Regions from separate parts of the Homo sapiens genome. Here region 1 is linked to region 2. Evidence: promoter capture Hi-C in 16 types of primary human blood cells and fetal thymus (Javierre and others, 2016). All regions are on one chromosome and are shown on one strand. The core of a region is centred on a gene start or on the middle of the fragment in contact, and the rest is flanking DNA. Distances in the headings are between cores, read along the strand shown.

Region 1 (2,790 bases), core at 114-2,613, 470 kb before region 2:
GAACAAGAGTGTAAAAAGGTGCGAAGTGTTCAACCCCAAAGATATGCTAATCAAAATTTAAAAATTAAATCTATACAATACAATTTAAAAAATAACATTACCCATTGTTAGAGGGGGTGTGGAGGAGTGGGTATTGTCATGTGCCACTGGGTCAAACATTGTGTAGGGCAAATTAACAATATCAGATCCTCACATTTTCTGTACATTTGACCTTGACCTTATCCCAGGCAAATACTTGATGGTATAGTGAAGGATATCTTTCTCAGCATTACATATATAATCAAAAATAAGAGGTGACTTAAGTGCTTCAAGGGAATTTATTAAAATGGATTATTGATCAGTCATTAAAAATGAAAGCATACAAGACTATTAAATGGTACAGAATTTCTATCAGAATAAGTGGGAAAAACAAGTTACAAGTAATATCATATGATTTACTTTTAGTGAAACTTACATGCACTTACACATTTGTGTATTATGTTTATGTGTCATGCATACATATAAAAGTGGAAGGCGGTTCAACAAAGTGCTAATTATCCTCATGATTTTTATTTTTTCTTTGATTTTTATGAACTTACAGTAAAGAACAAAGTACTACTTTGAAGGAAGAAAAATTATTTTTTAATAATTCAGCATAAATTACATAGGTTATCCAAAGATAGTAATATGGTATTTGATCTGAACCTAGACTTCTGTTCTGTTGATTTGACACATTTTGGTGTCTTTCCTTTTATGTTAAATAAGTAACTATCATTTACCTACAGCAGAAGAAGAATATAACTTAGCATTTGAGACTTGATAACATAGAGCTGTTGAATAGTTCTGTAAGATTTGTTAGGGAACCAAAACCAGGCATGTGAGGATGGTGCTGGAAGAGAAAAGGCGGGAAGGGTTTGCAGTCAACTGTCAGTTATCTTCAGCTTTCAGGCTCGCTGCACATGGACAGGTGAGGACCAAGGGAAGAAGAGCAAGCTTGGGTATTTGGTTGAGCTGTTAAGTTCAGGGTTAGAAAATGACCAGCACAAACCTTTTGGCTTGAGAGCCAAAGTTCTTGGCAGGAAGTCTCTGCTTGTTTCCGTTTGCCTTCCTCCCAGTTTCTCCTCAATGCCTTGCAGTCAGCATCCTGTATCTGCCATTTTGAAAACTGCCCTTAGGGGTCATGAGTGACCCCCTTCCTTATTGTTAAACCCAGTGACATTTTGTCCTTATCTGCAGCATTTGATGTGTTACTCAACTCTCTTTGGGCTTGTGTGCCTCTCCACCCTTGTGGTTATTCTCCTGCCTCTGTAACCACTCAGTGTCTTCTTCCATGTCCCTTGACCCTTCACTGTGTCTTCTACTGATTCCCCTTAGAACTTTCATTTACCCCTGGAGCTTCAACCATCATCTTCAGGTAAAACTCTAGCAACAAGTCATCTTTGCCCGCTGTGCATCATCCTTGCTGCCATTGAGAGTTTGGTCTTAAAATGGTACTTGCAATTAGAACACGTTCACTTTGTCACAAAATCTGACAGACATTGGACATACTTAGAATTCATATCTGGCTTCCTGAGACAGCTGTCAGATTGTCTACCAATGGTCTACCCATTGATGATGGAACAAGCTCCTTGTATCAGCCTCAAATAAAAATGATGGAATTAATAAAAGACGCTTACCTTAAGGCACAAAGGCCTATGAATTTCAAAAAGCATTGACAGAACCGATCCAAAAAATATGTAGTTTGTAAAAACTCTAATACAATCCACACTGAAGTAAAAAGCTTAACTTAGAATAATCCAAATAGTCTTTGTCAGCTGGACAGCTAATCTTGGTGAACATGGAAGAGTAGACAATAATGTTAAGGCATTGTGTGAGGGTTAAATTGTTTGCGAGGTCGGCATTGCTGGGGCTTCGGATTCAAACTGGGCCTTGAAAGAGGGGGTAAGAAAAGTCTATGGGGAACTGATGGGCACAAAGGCAGGGTGTAAGTGTTTGTTCTTGGGAAAATGATCAGACTAATCTGATTGAATAGAAGACGTTTATTGGAAATTAAAGGAAGATAAAGTAGTGATAGATAATGGAAGAACTGAAGGTCAACAGGGGAGTTTATATGTGATGGAAGAGAAAATCATTATCACTAGGGATGTAGATGTAAGAAAACGTTAGGTTTGGAAGTTATAAGACAAGAGAACTTCAAAGTTTGTGGGATTCTGTAAGGTGGGATGGGAATAAGCAATATTGTTGAGTACCTGCTGTGTGATCTGTAAGGCATAAGATGTCATTATTATTTTACAGCAAGCTTTGGAGTAGATGTACTAGTTCCCATTTTATGCATAGTGAGATGGAATTTTGAGCAGACATACTTGTCTAAGTTTGGCAGAGTGGCTGGACCAGGATTCATGCCCAGTGACATCTGACTTCAAAGCACAGTGAGGATGGAGAATGTTGAGACCAGTTCTTCATTTTACAGTCAAGGGGATGGGCCCAGGCCTATTCAAGGTTACAGGAATAGGATGAAAGCAATTTCTCTGTAAGAGAGAGTGGATAGGCTGTGATCTGCAGAGGGTCCAAGTTAGAGGCTCTTGTTATAAACAGATGAGGTATGCCAAGGAAGTTGGGTTCAGCAGTGTGATAGGAGTGAAAAAGAAGGGGTAGAGAGCAGCTGGACATTCGGGGAAAGTGGTGGTGACTGTTAGTGGAAGGTAATGACGAGAGAGATGACTTGAAAACAGTTCCGAGGTTTTAGTCCCAGGGAACTGCCATTAACAGTTTTAGGAGAAAAGCCATGTGTGTGTTATGGAGTGGTCTGAG
Region 2 (2,500 bases), core at 1-2,500:
TGCCTGGTCACCGGGGAGGAACTTTACAACATCACTGAAGGTTTGAGAATAGTGCTTCTGGCTGGTCGCGGTAGTTCCTAAGCTGCCTTTGTTCCCACTTCTCTGATCCAGGTTAACTTTTAACATTCTGACAAACTCGGACAAAAGTAACGTTGGGATTACGTCAGGAATTCCCACCCTTCAACAAATATTTGTTGCGGGCCTACTATGTACTCAGTGCAATGATACCCAATTTTGTAGTCTCCTAAACAGATCCTACTCGAGAGGTCTTGATTATTTACAGATGCAGTTAGAAAAGCGCCCATATTATTTTTAATTGAGTTCAAGAAATAGAATGCAGCGTTGAATTAGAAGACTAATTCCTTCTTTTAATATGTTGAAAATTTTTTATCGTTAAACATTTTGTAAAGGATTTTTTGAGGGAGTCGTTAGAAAGTCTATAAATACAACTACGCACACTAAAAAGTAGTCATCTTTTTAAAAATAACTTTGTTTAAATGCATGCTTAGTGTGAATGGATTTACCTAATTCTCTTAATAGCATGCATTTCTGATCTTCCCTACATTAACTGTAATAGCAACTGATATAACAGAAAAATGTAAGTGACTTGTAGTCGACTTGGCCACCTGCCACACGGGCTCGGTGAAGGTTAATGAGGAGCTATTTGGCACTTCGAGAATAGGTGGCACTAGACACAGAAATATCAACAGGCTATTTGTATGCTAACTAGGAGTTTCGGTGCCAGGTAACCATTGATGTACTCTTGCAGGAGAAAGAAGGATGTCGCTGTACGCCCCGAAAGAGAGGCATCATTTTTACGCCCAGTTTGGATTAATGATTGATTGAGTCGCAGAAATGCTTGTGATGCTGATAGAGGCCAATACTGGTCTTTCTGATCTCTTCCTCGTCGTTTATTACCTTCTCTTGTGGACAACGCATTCCTAAGAATGTATCTCTGCTTGTTTCCCAGTCCGCGAGATAAATGGTGACTTCTCTCTTGCAGGCACCGTCATACCTCGGGTTTAGATTCTGGACAGGCGAGCCGGCTGCACCGAAGGCCCGGTAGGCGGACTCTGGCGGAGCGCTTCAGAGAGAAGAGTGTAGACCGCGGGAGGCGGAGGGCTCCCTGCCAGCGTGCCTCGGCCAATCAGTATTCACACCGCCTGACAACCGGCCAATCAGAGGACGTAAAGCTCCGGGGCCTGAGCGGACAGTACTAGGAAGGGGAGCGCAGTCTGCAGACTGAAGCCAGTGGCGCTGCGCTGAATGCAACTGCGCGCGCCCGCCGGGTGAGCCAGCGATCTGAGCCAGGCGGGGGCGGCCCGACCTTTCCCGCCCAGCCTGGGTCAGAGGAAGCCGAAAGCGGCCTCAGCAAGGTGAGGCGCCCGAGGCTGCAGAAGACCGAGCAGAACTTTGCAGAGTTCGGGATGTGCTGGGCTAGGTCGCTGAGGACTTGACTGGCTTCCTCCCTCCTTCCCTCCACCTACCTTCTCCCTCCCCCTCCACCATCCAGTGGGTTCGTTCCGGGCCTCCAGCTATCAGCTCCCGATCTCGTGTTTGAGGGTAGCGACCCCGATTTCTGTTTGCATGCACAGCCAGCAGCCCTAGCGCCAGATCCTAAAGCTGGATATCTTTTAACTGGGCTACCAGCCCGGGCCTCAAAGTTTTGGTGAGTGCTGTGATGCCGCTCGGGGTGTCAGGGAGGGCAAAGGGCGTGAATCATCTTTCACCTTTTCTGTGTGACTTGGATGCCTTACCTTAAATATATAAACCAAGGCCTAAGTACAGAGAGCCCACGCGGCTCAGCCCTGTGCACCTCAGGTACTATTAAGGCTGGACGGGCGTCTGTATTGTGCTCTTTGCCCTTATGGGACGCTAATGACAACAAAATTTTGGTTTTCAGTTGAGTATTTTGGGGAGGGGGGTGAGAGGACCTCTTCAAGCCCAAGGAGGGGTCCTTGTGGTGGTGTAGGCTGATGAGAGGCATTTGGGAAGCATAGAGTGGTACTTCAGTGAGTCTGAAGGGCCACTTGTAATCAAAGGAAAACTGTTCTTCCACGGATAGTTTTATATGCATCATGGCCATACTAGTTGAGTATGGGGAAATCCGACAAGTGGCCTGGGGCTGCCTATTTGGACACAATATTTTGTGTGTGTGTGATAAGTGAGTTACCCAGGGACTTGTCCGGAAAGCCCGTGTAAAGCCAGAGAGGGCCACGGTTAAAGGTCAGGTACTCACAGAGCACTTAGAATTAATAAAATAAAACCTTTGTTGGGTTGTGGATCCCTGGGGGCCCTGGAGATACAGGAAAGGCACGTGTGGCCTGGAAGTGAGGGACATGTAATGAGAACAGGATGACTCAAGCGGCCGGAGGCGGGCAGACCAGGAGCTTTGGGCCGGAGGCTCAGGGATGGTCCCTGACGGCGGCCGGTGGGTCTTTGGATTTCTTTGTGTTTCCCCAGAGTGAGGGCCGCCAGGCTCAGGCCCCAGCGAAGCCCC

Evidence for each region. Contacts are between HindIII fragments. The CHiCAGO score rates a contact against its expected background, and 5 or more counts as called.
Region 1: a fragment that was not itself captured here is called in contact with the fragment with the promoter of DMRT2 in region 2 in 1 of 17 cell types (monocytes); the score reaches 5.6 in monocytes.

What each region holds. Positions count from the first base shown.
Region 1 is chr9:583,834-586,623 of GRCh38, forward strand. The region is part of intron 1 of KANK1 (KN motif and ankyrin repeat domains 1); the gene reads left to right. Among named protein-coding and RNA genes, the nearest start is that of KANK1, 81 kb to the left of the region's middle. The HindIII fragment of the contact is 787 bases long and covers 971-1,757 here.
Region 2 is chr9:1,049,107-1,051,606 of GRCh38, forward strand. It overlaps DMRT2 (doublesex and mab-3 related transcription factor 2), which reads left to right and starts at 1,251. Exons shown (of 4, transcript NM_181872.6): 1 at 1,251-1,669; 2 at 2,464-2,500. RefSeq lists an enhancer at 1,023-1,892. The HindIII fragment of the contact is 13,820 bases long and covers 1-2,500 here.